Regions from separate parts of the Homo sapiens genome. Here regions 2, 3 and 4 are each linked to region 1. The links are contacts of gene promoters, found by promoter capture Hi-C in human tissues and cell types (Jung and others, 2019). All regions are on one chromosome and are shown on one strand. The core of a region is centred on a gene start or on the middle of the fragment in contact, and the rest is flanking DNA. Distances in the headings are between cores, read along the strand shown.

Evidence for each region. Contacts are between HindIII fragments. The study calls those that stand out against the background at their distance.
Region 2: a fragment that was not itself captured here is called in contact with the fragment with the promoter of GAK in region 1 in 1 of the 25 tissues and cell types used here (spleen).
Region 3: a fragment that was not itself captured here is called in contact with the fragment with the promoter of GAK in region 1 in 1 of the 25 tissues and cell types used here (dorsolateral prefrontal cortex).
Region 4: a contact is called between a fragment that was not itself captured here and the fragment with the promoter of GAK in region 1, in 1 of the 25 tissues and cell types used here (spleen).

Annotation. Positions count from the first base shown.
Region 1 is chr4:930,663-934,095 of GRCh38, forward strand. It overlaps GAK (cyclin G associated kinase), which reads right to left and starts at 1,654. Exons shown (of 28, transcript NM_005255.4): 1 at 1,381-1,654. The coding sequence starts at 1,525. It overlaps TMEM175 (transmembrane protein 175), which reads left to right and starts at 1,798. Exons shown (of 11, transcript NM_032326.4): 1 at 1,798-1,878. RefSeq lists a silencer at 1,440-1,759 and an enhancer at 1,920-2,239. The HindIII fragment of the contact is 8,506 bases long and covers 1-3,433 here.
Region 2 is chr4:2,247,997-2,251,429 of GRCh38, forward strand. MXD4 (MAX dimerization protein 4) reads right to left here. Exons shown (of 6, transcript NM_006454.3): 5 at 3,088-3,250; 6 at 1-2,705. The coding sequence ends at 2,548. MIR4800 (microRNA 4800) reads right to left here and starts at 2,160; the gene lies at 2,081-2,160. The HindIII fragment of the contact is 7,274 bases long and covers 1-3,433 here.
Region 3 is chr4:1,957,983-1,961,415 of GRCh38, forward strand. NSD2 (nuclear receptor binding SET domain protein 2) reads left to right here. Exons shown (of 22, transcript NM_001042424.3): 16 at 1-54; 17 at 1,489-1,758; 18 at 3,053-3,169. Among named protein-coding and RNA genes, the nearest start is that of MIR943, 27 kb to the right of the region's middle. The HindIII fragment of the contact is 4,522 bases long and covers 1-3,433 here.
Region 4 is chr4:1,933,667-1,937,099 of GRCh38, forward strand. It overlaps NSD2 (nuclear receptor binding SET domain protein 2), which reads left to right. Exons shown (of 22, transcript NM_001042424.3): 7 at 1,478-1,596. Among named protein-coding and RNA genes, the nearest start is that of MIR943, 51 kb to the right of the region's middle. The HindIII fragment of the contact is 3,686 bases long and covers 1-3,433 here.

The DNA.
Region 1 (3,433 bases), core at 404-2,903:
CCTAGTATTTTCAGAATAAATGATTTGATCTGAGAGAAATCTTCCAACTGATGTGAAAGAATATCACACTTCAGCCCCCACTTCTGAAAGAAGAGCTTAGACTTTCTGACCAAATCATACCCAAAATCTGTTTGGTTTTGACCACAATGGAGACAAAGTGTGTGATAATGCTACAGTCAAAATGTCTCCGCAGGCCTTTTGTGATAATCAGAATTCTGGGATAGTCTCCTGTCTGGTCACAGAGCAGGCACCTGGACAGGCTAACCCTCCAGCCCTGAGAGGTACCAGGGAGCTGGTGAGGGTGAGGGCTTTTGTGTCGCTTCACTCCCTCTCCCTGTGCCAATACAGCAGAATAGAGTTACGCTTCCGCACCCAAGTCAACTGTGTTTAGCCCATAAACTTCACAGCCAGTGAAATATGACACACCTCCAGGCACCACTGGACAAAAAATGTAAGGAAAATCCACAAGAGAGAATGGGACCCACTGGCACTGGTGATCGATTCCGTGTGAACGGAGAGGACATCCAGGGAGCTAGAAATAGCATGCAGAGACAAAACTGACTCAAGACTGACTCAAGAGGACTTAAGCCGAGTGACCTGTCCACTCTGCAAGTTCTATATAGGTCACAACCACTGGCTCTGCTTCCTGTACTACACACGGAATCACACGAGTAGATGTTCACCGGGAAGAGAAACACTGAGGTGTTGAAAGACGAAGGGGGATCACGAGACACAGCCCAGTCTACCCTCGGCCAACCCCCCCACCCCCCAGGCTACAACCGCAACTACCTGCAACACGTGTGCACCCACCAACTCTCAAGTTCCCTGGACTGTAGAAGAACCAGCCCTAACCTCCAAAGTCCAGTCCTGTCCCTGCCTGCTCAATAACCCCAGATGTCCGGCAAAAGGCCAAGGCTTAAACCCACCTCCTGCACCGCTCACCTCCTGACTCCAGCTGTCGGCCTTCTAGGCACCGTCCCTCAGTCTCCGCTGTGGGTCCCCACCCAAGCTCCCTGCCTGCCACCATCCCCCACCTCACCGTAACATCTTCCCCCACCCACCCTGAGGGGGTTCCCCAAGCCCCAGGCCTTGCTCCGACTTGACCCTACTCTTATGACAAGAAAGTACCCCGACCCGGTCCCAGCCTCGCCCTCCGCAATCACCGCCAGCAGGCACTCACCTACGCCCGCGCTATGACCTTCGCCTGGCCCTGACCCACGCCCTCGGCAGAGACCCTCCCCTGGCCGACCCTGACCCACGATCCCGCTGGGACCCTCCCCAGCCCTAACCCACGCCCTTCCACTCCGGGCTGACGCTGCCCCCAGCGTCCCGGAGACAACACTCCGCGGCCGCACCCGCGCTGCCGACCCGGGGCCTCACCTTCGGCCAGGACCCGCCGCACCCGCAGCCGCAGCTCGCCCAGTTCCACCGTCTGCCCCACGAAGTCACTCTGGTCGCGGCCGGAAGCACCGCCCAGGGAGCCTGGACCCGCCAAGAAGTCGAGCGCCGACTGCAGCAGCGACATGGCGGTGGCTGCGCCGCACCCCGCGGCAGCCGGAGTGGTCGGGCTCGGGCTCCCGCTCCCTCGCCGTCCGGGTCAGCTCAGCAACCGCCGGCCCGGAGGTGCACCATCTTCCGCCTCGACGCCGTGACGTAGGCGCCCGTGAGGACGCGTCGCGTCAGGCGGCGACCCGGCCTAGCCCCGTCCCCTCCGCCGCGGCCTCACTTCCTGGCTGCGCGCGCAGGCGCGGAGGTCTGACGGAGACAGCGCGTGCGCGGCGTCGCCGGGCTTGCGATGAACTTCCGGCTGTCAAGCTCCCGGCCGGGCTGACTCAAGCGGAGGCGCGCGGAACAGTCGCCGAGGCGATTCCCGCCCAGGTAGTTCAGCGCCCCAGTCCAGCTCCCGGTACCGTTCCCCACATGGTCTGTTTTGTGGGAGGCTCCTTCTCAGGTGTCTCCGGTTTAAGCGCTTCGCCATCCTCTGGGTGGAGTCAGCCTCCCGTTTGCTGTTAGCGCCGCGTTTGCGAATGGGTTCGCGAATTTTTCTCTCAGTTGGCTAAGGAGCAAGGAGTTAGCGTGCGTTAAGCTTTCAGTAAATACTTGGTTTTCGTCTCATGGAGGTCGGAGTTTCCTGTGACGCTTAGTGAGTAAGGTTGGCAGCCCCCTCCCAGCAGCCAGGCAGGCAGTTTGCAGGGGAAACGCTGCTGCATTGCTCTGTCTTCCGAGGAGAGGGCCAGGGTCTGGCCTGGGGCAGTGACCAGTAGTGGGAGCCGTGGGCTAGAAAAACCTTCGTCCTGGGCAACCACAACACTGCAGAGACTGCCCTGTGACCCTCAAGGTTCGTTCTCACCCTGACATTTTCCAAGGCAAAAGCAAATCCTCATGAACCACTTGGAAGGGTTCGTAATGCCCAACTATTTGGAGATGAAATGGTGACTTTCCTTATAGGATAATAAGGAAATGGCTCACAGACAATGCATTTTTAGTTTTTGGCCCACACAGTATTTGGGGGTTGGGAGTGGGTAGCAGGAGGTGAATTAGTTGCTATCATTTAAAGACTGATGCCAGGCGCGGTGGCTTACACCTGTAATCCCAGTGCTTTGGGAGGCCGAGGCAGGCGGATCACCTGAGGTCAGGAGTTCCAGACCAGCCTGGTCAACATGGTGAAACCCCGTCTCTACTAAAAATACAAAAATTAGCCGAGCGTGGTGGCGGGTGCCTGTAATCCCAGCTACTCGGGAGGCTGAGGCAGGAGAATCGCTTGAACCCGGGAGGCGGGCGCCACTGTACCCTAGCCTGAGACTCCGCCTCAAAAAATAAATAATAATAATAATAATAATTGAAAGGCCTAAATGTTAAAAACCTAGTTTTCCAGCTTCTGTGGAAAAATCAAACCTGTCAATATTGGACCCAAAATGATGTGTGTTACCAATTACCTAGAGTGGTCCCTTGAGGTAAGACACAGTCATTTGCCTGACCAGATGGGCTCATGTATGTTACCTGCCTGGTTCCTATAGTCATTTAAGGTTGCAACCCCTTCAACAGAGTTATTTGTTCTCCAACTCAAAAATGGATTCTAAAGCTCACATCAGCCTCTTAGCCGTCCCAGAAGCTAACATCTGTTATCTTTATCATTAAAAGATAATAGCCTCAGCTCGTTGGAACACTTATCTATGTTATGGAATGAAGTATTGCATGAAGCCAAATGACATCTTTAAAAATATATATAACAAAAATAACAGTAGCAATAGCTTAGTTTAGGCACTGATTTATTGCTTACAACACCCTTTTCTGTAATAGTTCATTGTAGTGAAAACATCTTTGTGAAGAAAGCACAGTATAATTAACCCCCTTTATTTTGGGATGAGAAAATATGCTCAACAATGCCATTATTCGGCCAGGGCCAACAAGTGATACAACTGCAATTCAACGC
Region 2 (3,433 bases), core at 934-3,433, 1.3 Mb after region 1:
CTGGGAGGGCACACGCAGAGGCTCAGGAGCCCCGGGCTCTGTTCTGCTTCTGTCTGCTCTCTATAGACACGGTGATGGCCTCTTGGTCCCTGCAGCCTCCAGTGATGGCAGCCTGGGCCCCTGACAGGGAGCAGTGGGAGGTTGGAGCATGTGGTGACTCCTAGCACGGGCCCCCACCCAGTGGGCAACCCCTCACCCACCTGCTGATGGCAGGGAGGGGCAGCTGAACAGCACCCCGGGTGGCTGAGACTGCCTCCCAGTCCACGTGGGAACCACGGCCTCAAGAGCCACAGGCTGAGCTGCCGGGAGGGTGGGCTGAGGGGCCACCACTGGTCACCGGGTGGATTCTGCTGGTCAGAGATGAGAGCAGAAGCCCCTAGCTGCCTCAGGCACTGGAGGGTGGGGCAGGGAGCTGGTGCTTCAAGAATTGAGGGCAGGGACACGACCACCTCAGGGCCCTGCAGTGCTGGCTGGGGAAGCAAGCTTTTACACACGGCCCGCCTTGCTCGGAGGTGCCACGGTGTTTGAAATGAAGCCTGGGGGGACAGACTCAGGCAGGCAGGGGAAGCTCCTTTCTGGGCACCCCTGGACCCCAGTGGGGCCGGAAGGAGATGCAGACAGGCCTCCTCACAACCACCCGCAACGCGTTCGGATGCCCCTCAGCTCCAGGCACCATGCCCCCTACAGCCTGCAGGGCAGGTTCTGTGCCAGAGTTGTTTCCAGGGACCCCCTTCCGCCACAGTGGGCCCCCCATCCTGGGGCGTCTATGCGTACGACTGAAAATAGACACGAATTTTCCCCATGATATGGGAATTGGCTACAGATGTACCAGAGGCACGGCAGGCACTGCTATGGGCCAGCCCCAAGGACAGAGGACGTCAGGAAGGAAAGGCGGGTGCAAGCCTCCTGGTGCCAGGCCTGCACCACCCAGCGAGCACAGTCTTCATTGGCTGCCAGTGTCTGAAACCTGGAACCCTCGCCTAGGCCAGGAAGCAGGGGGCTCGAGTCAGGTGACAGGTGAGAATCCATCTCTCTAGTGAGCAAGCAGGCCCCTGCCAGCCACTGGGGAGGGCAACACTGGGGACCAGGTCACAGCCCCTCCGTGCCACCCACAGGGGCCTGGCTGCATCGCCTCCAGGAAGCCCTGGCTGCCGGGAGGGGCTGCCCACAGGAGATGGGAGGACAGCACTAGCTGGGCAGGCCTGGGGCACCCTGAGCCACGAGGGACATGCTGGTGGGAAGGGCAAGGCCTGACACAAGACACAAGGCACACTTTGACGACGTGACGGAGGGACAGGTCCCTGAGACGCTGGGTGGCTCCCACCCCTCAGCAAACAAGGACGCAACAACAGCTAGGAAAATAGAATACAAAAATCTGGTACAGGAAACAGAGGCGGCACACACGGACGTCCCTAGGCCGAGAGTCTTTAGGCTTTCTTCTTTTTAAAAATGGTTTTTTTTTTTTTTCTGGGAAAGCCTCTCTGCCAGCTGAAGCTGCCGCAGCAGAGCTCATGAGAAGCCCTTTCCTAAGGTGGCTCCAGGAGCCCTAACCGGGCTGCTGGGCAGTGCAGCATTTTACTTTTTTGCTTTTTGTTTAAAAAAGGGAGATGAGTAAGCCCCCGAGGACCCAGCGGCTGCAACTTAACCAGCCTCCAGTTCACCCCAGCCCCAGCCAGGAAGAGAAGCCCCTCTCCTGTGCAGACAGGCAGGACTACTGGGTGGGCGTGGGTGAGCAGGAGCTAGAGGGGGATCCAGGCACAGCCCAGGGGCTGTTTGCCAGATGACCCCTGAAGGCCATCATCCCCAGAACATGTGACCTCGGGACGCCCAGGTGTGTCTGCATGTGTGAGCATGTACATGAGTGGGTGTGTCTAGGTGCGTGCGCGTGTGCGTCTGACAGTCCTACCAGAGCAGACGCTGCCCAGCTCGGCGTGGGCTGGGCTGGCCTGCCTGGCCCCGAGAGCCCAGCCCTAGGTTCTGACACCTGCGAAGTGGGAAGGACCTTAACCACCCACCTGCCCCAGGTGCTCACCCAGTTCCCGCCCTTCACAGACCCCTTGTCCACGCCAGGAGCCTATGTGGACTGACAGGTAGGTGGACAGACGGACGGATGGACAGACAGCCTTGCCTTCCTTCCTTCCTCGGTCCACTCCTTTCTCCTGGGATCCAGGGTTGGGGTCTGAGCTCCCTGTGGTGGTCATTAAGCCCCTCACACGGCACCTGCCGAGGTTTGCAGCAATGACGTTTAATACTTCTGGAATGATTAGGAATCTGAGAACAGACCGTGGGCGGCTATGCTGACCAGGGCTCCGGATGTGGAAGCTGGGCCCTGCCTCCTTGCAGGGGACTCTGCCCAGCTGGAAGGGGCAGGCAGCTCGGCAGGCCCTGACCGGCAAGCGGGCAGTGCCAGGCAGCCCAGCAGCAGCTGGAGCTTCCAGAATGGCACAGCAGTGGGCCTGTGGAGAGGCTGGCGTCAACTGAAGGAGAACTGGAGGGCTGACACGCGTGGCTGGCGGGCAGGCAGGCCAAGGAGCAGAGGGCACGGGCCTACGAGAGGGCGGGGCGGCCCAGCCGCCGGCAGTGGGGCCCGAAGCCACTGTCGCCGCCGGTGCCACTCTGCAGGCTGTAGTGGTCGTCCGCGTCACTGCTGCTGCCAACACTGTCCAGCTCACCAGGGCCAAACTCCATGCCCTCTATGTCCACTTCTAGGGAGAATAGAGTGGGGATGGGGTCAGGCCACTCTGAGGGTGCCAGCCCATTTCTCCCTTTTCTGGAAGCAGAAGCTCTAGGCAGAGGGGCAGAAGTGCGGAGGGCGCTGTCTGGGCCCTGGGGCAGCAGACGCCAGGAGGGCTCTGGCTGAGAACCCGGCCTCAGAAGCACCAGTCCTCAGCGGGCCACACAGCCTCTGCATCCCACCCTCCCTGTCCAGTCCCTTCTGCGCTTAGTGACAAACACACACCCCAGTGCAGCAGGGAGCTGGGAGGGTTCTCCCCAGCCCCAGCACCAGGCACCTCCTCTCCACCCAGGGAGCTGCACCACTGCGCACCCGGAGGCCCAGGTGAGGCTGCCCCGCGCCCCACGCCCCACCTTGCTCTGAGTCGTCCGTGGAGACAGCAGAGCCCGTGCTATCTGTGCGCACGCGCTCCACGCTCTGCACCGACAGCTGCTCCAGGCGCCGCTTCAGGAAACGATGCTCCTGCTGCAGCTGCTCCTTGATGCTCAGTGCCCGGCGGTCCTGCTCCTCCAGTTTCTGGGGTCGAGGGGGGCTGTGAGCTCACAGCGGGAAGAGGAGTCCCCCCATCCCCCTGGCCAGGCACTGGGGCACCCAGGCCTGGGCCCGGGAGGTTCCCCATCCCTGCCAAGACCTAGCCAAGGCTACAGGCCACAGGGTGCCCAGTCTCTGCCAGCCCCACAGCCTGAGGTGGGTCCCTCC
Region 3 (3,433 bases), core at 465-2,964, 1.0 Mb after region 1:
GCCCGAGAAACACAGGAGAGCGAGCGCAAGCCCCCACCATACAAGCACATCAAGGTGGCGTGTGGGAGCTGCGTGCACGCGTGTGGAGGGAGTCTTCCCCGAGGGCCGTGAGAGGTTCTTAGGCACACCCAGGCTATGGCTGGGGAGAGGACTGTCACCAGCCAGGATCTGTGGTGCCTGGCATGGATGGCCACACAAGAGACCATGAGCAAATGGCATGGGGGGATCTGCATGGGGGTTCTTGGATCCGCCTTGGAGTGTGAGGCTTGGCTTGGTAGCTTAGAGAAGGGTTGGGGTGACAGTCCTGACCGGGCTGCTTGGAGCAGGAGGAGCTGAGGGATGAGCCTCCCACCTGCACCAGGCTGTTGCCAAGTGCTGGGAGTCAGTCACATACGGCCAGGGCTCAGTGACTGAGCCCCAAACACGTAGATCCTGTACCTCAGAGAGCAAGATGGCGGGGCGGCAGGGGAGCTTGCCAGTTCTGTGTTTATTCCAGTGAGCTCGAGAGCCCCAGCAGGAGGAAGTGCAGCCAGGGCAGGGCTCTGTGAGAGCTCCAGGCCCCTCAGGGCTGCCTGCGCTCAGAGCTGGTGCGGCAAGCCGCATCCCCAGGAGCCTCGTGGCCGTTCCTGACGAGTGTTTGTGATAAGTGTGTGCCGGAGGTCAGGTGCTCTGCCTTTGCTTGTAAAATGTGGGCTGCAGTCAATATCTTTGTATGTAAAGAAAGTGCTCTGTATTCATCTTTATATAATATTTTCTTTGGGATGGATTCCCAGAAACAGAATCACAGGGTCAGAGAGTATGAAATGTTTAGATTCTTGGGGAATATTCCCAGATTGTTCTCCAAAATGTACAGTTTGTCATACCACAGCAGTGAAAAGAGTGTCTTTCGCCACCTCTTCCCTAAGATTATGCATTTCTACCCCAGCTGATTTTCAGCTGTCTCTACTGCTTTGTTATTTGGTTGCTTGTCTTTCACTAATAGTAAACCACAAGGTCATGAGAGCAGAGGCTATGCCCTCCTGCCTAGCACTGCTCCTCCTGGGGTGGACTCCCATGTGGCTTGCTGCTGGTGCTTGGTAAAGGAAGAGTCAGAGAGATGGGTCGGGAAGCTGCTCAGAAGAGCTCTTACCAGCGTTTGCTGGACACCCTGCAGTGTACTAAGCAATCAACACGCTTTTTCTCTCTTCATCTTACAATGGCCTGGCTGGATACGTGTCAGCTCTTGTTCATCAGCGATGTGCACAGACACTAAGATAAAATAATGTGAGGGGGCGTTGTGTTGCCCTGCCTGCCTCTTGTGCTAAGAAGGCAGAGGAGAGCTCCTCTGGGATCTGGGGAGGGCTGTTCTGAGTAGTGTGTCCTAGCCAGGACTCTGAAGCTTTCTAAAAGGCCACCTGGAGGCTGGGTAAGGAGAGGCAGTGGTGGGTGTGCAAGGGTATTCGGAAGGCTCTCATGTGTGGACCAAGACAGCTTACTCCTTCCCTGCAGGTGAATAAGCCTTACGGGAAAGTCCAGATCTACACAGCGGATATTTCAGAAATCCCTAAGTGCAACTGCAAGCCCACAGATGAGAATCCTTGTGGCTTTGATTCGGAGTGTCTGAACAGGATGCTGATGTTTGAGTGCCACCCGCAGGTGTGTCCCGCGGGCGAGTTCTGCCAGAACCAGTGCTTCACCAAGCGCCAGTACCCAGAGACCAAGATCATCAAGACAGATGGCAAAGGGTGGGGCCTGGTCGCCAAGAGGGACATCAGAAAGGTATGTGTCGTTATCCCCTCCCCTGCTTTTGAGAAATTACGGTTCACTGGGTAATTAGGCCTAGGTTTGCTTGTGGTGGTTTTGTAGTCATGTGAGAATGGTATTTTTTGGAAAAAAAATTTTTTTTGTTTTTGTTTTGAGACAGGGTCTCACTCTGTCATCTAGGCTGGAGGGCAGTGGCATGATTGTAGTTCACTGCAGCCTCAGAATCCTGGGCTCAAGCCATCCTCCCACCTTAGCTTCCCAAGCAGCTGGGACTACAGGCGTGTTTGACCATGCCCTAATAATTTTATTTTTTTTTGGAGATGGGGTCTTGCTGTGTTGCCCAGGCTCATTTCGAACTCCTGGCCCCAAACCATCCTCCTGCCTAGGCCTCCCAAAGCAATGGGATTTTAGGCAAGAGCCTCTGTGCCTGACCTGAAATATTTTTTTGAATTGAATTATTACAATTGAATATTTTAAAATGTTACATGAAAGGTATCTGCTATAACTCACACATTCCCTTAAAACATGCCTTATGTCAGAATTCTGATGGTTATTTTTATGAAATGGAAGATCTGTGAAGTGACCCACTTTCCTCTGGGCTAGTAGCCAGGTGCTTGGGAGCACTCACCAGCAGGCGTAAGGAGATTGCTCTTGTGAGGGGTGGTCCTGGCACAGTCTAGGACCAAGTCGTTGGTAGACACCAGGACAGTTGACCTCCTGCCTCTGCTCCCAGACTGTGTCCCAAGGACATCCAGGGACTGAGAGACATGTAGAACTGCTGACCCTGATGTATTTTGGCATGACCCAGGTCCATACCAGGGCTGACCCAGCACAGAGAGTTCATAAGCCTGGTGCCAGTTCCAGCAACAGCACAAAAGGTTGCTTAGAAACACCTCCCCAGCACCCTTGTTCCTCGCCTGCCTGACTGCTGATTCACCCAGACTCTTGCTTTACATCCTGTCAGATACTTTGTAGCCATTTTCTCTGTTGTGGGGATCACCGTGTAAAGTGGGTTATGTAGAAGCTTGGTTATCAGACAGCGCTCCTGAGACAAGGTCGTGTAGGAAGCAAGGGTTGGCATATTGCCACTTCGTGAATACTTAATACATTTTTCATTGGCAACCTTTACATACAGATATGTCTGAGATCCTTTGAATTTAATTTATGGAGACTTTGTACACGCCCTCCACGGAGGTATGCTGATGTGTGTGGTGCCCGTTCTAAGTGATCATGATGGGGAGTCTTGAGCCCCGACACTGAGGATTGGTCAGCACGCTTTTTGTCATGGCCACATGCTTGTGATTTCCAGGGAGAATTTGTTAACGAGTACGTTGGGGAGCTGATCGACGAGGAGGAGTGCATGGCGAGAATCAAGCACGCACACGAGAACGACATCACCCACTTCTACATGCTCACTATAGACAAGGTAATGCGGAACTCCACTGTGAGCTTCTGCAGTGTGCTGGACCTGGAGCCCTGATGGTCACCTGTAGAACTGGACTTTGCCCTGTGGCAGCGCCAGCATTTGTCTCCTTAGCTGCTTATTTTCAAACATCTGCACATTTTCTTCTGAGGTGCAGCGTGTCTTTCAGCTGCGCCGGAGGGCTAGAGCTAACCACCTCTCAGCACCCAGGCACCCTGAGGCTCTGCTTGTCCGGGTGTGCATGCAGAGCGTTCCCAGCAGCCTTAG
Region 4 (3,433 bases), core at 533-3,032, 1.0 Mb after region 1:
TACAGGTGTGAGCCACCGCGCCCGGCCCTGCAAGATGTTTTATGAAGAGTCCATTAATAAAAACCCTGAACCCCTCCGTAAAGCAGTCATGCAAATGATAATATTGGATTTATATTTAAAATAAACATTGGCATGTTGAAATTAATCATCTCTGTAGAATTTGCACTTACACCTTACCGTCTTAGGTTGATATTGTTTGGATGCCTTAGGTCTTGGATTAACTGCTATTCCTGGGAACACCTAACACATGGAACAGCTGAGCAAACATGGAGGAAGCCCTTAATTTGCATATATAAATGTTGTGTTACTACTTAACATGTTTAAGGAAATGTTTAAAAAGTAGCAAGTTGTTTTTTTTTTTAAGTTCAACTTAAATTCCACAAGTCTTTGAATGTTAGTAAGGAAAAGATTTTTTTTTTGTTTTTCGTTTTTTTTTTAGACAGAGTTTCGTTCTTGTTGCCCAGGCTGGAGTGCAATGGCACAATCTCGGCTCACTGCAACCTCCACCTCCTGGGTTCAAGCGATTCTTCTGCCTCAGCCTCCTGTGTAGCTGAGATTACAGACATGTGCCACCATGCCTGGCTAATTTTGTATTTTTAGTAGAGATGGGGTTCCTCCATGTTGGTCAGGCTGGTCTCAAACTCCCGACCTCAGGTGATCCGCCCACCTCAGCCTCCCAAAGTATTGGGATTACAGGCATGAGCCACCATGCCCGGCCTAGGAAAAGATTTTTTTAAAATACTGGGCTATCAGGAGGCAGAGGTTGCAGTGAGCTGAGATTGTGCCATTACACTCCAGCCTGAGCTACAAGAGCGAAACTCCATCTCAAAAATAAATAAATAGATAAAATACTGGGTTATATTTAAATTTAATGCTTTAATACATTAAATTATAATTATAAGGCCAGGCGCGGTGGCTCACGCCTGTAATCCCAGCACTTTGGGAGGCCGAGGCAGGCGGATCACGAGGACAGGAGTTCGAGACCAGCCTGACCAACATGGTGAAAACCCATCTTTACTAAAAATATAAAAATTAGCTGGGCGTGGTGGCACGTGCCTGTAATCCCAGCTACTCAGGAGGCTGAGGCAGGAGGATGGCTTGAACCCACGAGGCGGAGGTTGCAGTGAGCTGAGATTGTGCCACTGCCCTCCAGCCTGGGTGACAGAGCGAGACTCCATCTTAAAAAAAAAAAAAAAAAAAAAAAAAAAAAAAATATATATATATATATATATATATATATATAAAAAACAGATAAAACAGATGCTAATATAATCCCTAAGGTTAGATATAGTCACCAGTTTTTTTGTTGTAAAGAGATTTGATCTGTAAGACATAAGCCCTGGAAATCAGCAGGGTTACAGGAAACCCATCATGGGCTGGATCTGTATGTTGAATGCCCTGGGTAGGTTCTCACAGTGCTTCAAATGCAGCTTTTGGAGTGGTTTTCATGTACATTTTCCCCATTCCCCATTCCAAGGTAATGTAAATGGGAAAAAAAGAAACCACACAAAGAGGATACAGGACCCTACAGAAGATGCTGAAGCTGAGGACACACCCAGGAAAAGACTCAGGACGGACAAGCACAGTCTTCGGAAGGTAATTGTGTTCCAGGTTTGCTTGACCTGTCAGAGTGTATGCTCTGTGACTCTTGGTGCCACTGTTTCCCTGCATGGGAGCACACATGAGATGCAGGTGTCAGTGCACCCAGCTCCTTCCAGGCTGGTATTCAGCAGAAGGCTTGCATTTCTTACAGAACCCCATTGAGAAAGGCTGCTTGCAGGTTCTTACCCTCCAGGGGTGTTATCACAGAAACCGATGGTGTGTTGCTCTGCAAGAAAACAGACATCCAAATGCTTTGAGTAATACTTGTTTTTTAGATTGGACAAAATTGTCACTAAAAATAACCTCTTTGGCCGGGTGTGGTGGCTTACGTCTCTAATCCCAGCACTTTGGGAGGCCGAGGCAGGTGGATTGCTTGAGGTCAGGAGTTCGAGACCAGCCTGGCCAAGATGGTAATACCCCGTCTCTACTAAAAATACAAAAAATTAGCTGGGCATGGTGGCGTGCACCTGTAATCCCAGCTACTCAAGAGGCTGAGGCAGGAGAATTGCTTGAACCTGACAGGCAGAGGTTGCTGTGAGCTGAGATCATGCCACTGCACTCCAGCCTGGGCGACACAGCAAGATTCTGTCTCAAAAAAAAACAAACAAAAAAACCCCCAAACACCATAACCTCTCTATAGGGCTTATTATTCAGGATGTAAGTAATGAACTGGCATCAAAGTCCATTAGAGATATGTGTTACATGTCAATAAAAAGTCAACAGTTCATTAAAGGCAATGAACCTAGATTTTATTTAGTTTATTAGTAATTCATGTTATTGTTTACTGAATGGGAATACTAAACAGGCTGTGCAGGAAAAGTGCAGCATAGATACAAAGCCAGCCCCGGGTCCTTGTGCTCCTCGCTTACTGCCAGCATGTGTCCAGGGACAGAGTTTGCCTGGTACCTGCAGGGGAGTGAAACCAACCAAGGAAACACCGGGTTATTCTGTCTAGCGTATGGTGCCCATGCATGTAGAAGACGTGAGCCCTTTTCCTAGTGTATGAAGTGGTGCCATTCATTTCAACTGTCTCAGATGTCCGGTTAACTTTTTCATGAACTGAGACTTTAATTAGACTTTGTACTTTGTTTGAATTTCTATTTTATTCGATAATAGTTCTGGCCGGGTGTGGTAGCTCACACCTGTAATCCCAGCACTTTGGGAGGCTGAGGCAGGTGGATCACCTGAGGTCAGGAGATCAAGACCAGTCTGGCCAACATGGTGAAACCCCATCTCTACTAATAATACAAAAATTAGTCGGGTGTGGTGGTGCATGCCTGTAATCTCAGCTACTCGGGATGAGGCAGGAGAATCACTTGAACCTGGGAGGCGGAGGTTGCAGTGAGCTGAGATTGCGCCACTGCACTCCAGCCTGGGTGACAGAAGGAGACTCCATCTCAAAAAAAAAAAAAAAAAAAAAAGTTCTGACAGAGTAGTTGTATATTTGTGATTTTGAGTAAAGCTTCATCCTGTTTTTCACTGATCTGAGTTAAAATGCTCTTTTTATTTCAAAGAATGGAAAATACATCTCACATATTGCTAAGGTGTAAATATGTGGACACCATATCATTTACCTTATTTCTTTAAACTTGTATTTGTAGTTGAGAGGAGCAGGCAGGCCCTGCGCCATTTTTCTGGCCCACAGAACATTCTTCTGGGGCACCTGCCATAGGTGAGGTTGTTGAGTGATCAAGTGTTCAGCAGTAAGCTAGGTCAGATTCACCTGTAGTCACTAAGGTTTGTAGTTACCAGGAAGCCTGCACTTAACATTTGCTCTGGTCACCTAATTTTTTTTTTTTTTGAGAGGGAGTCTCACTTCGTCACCCAGGCT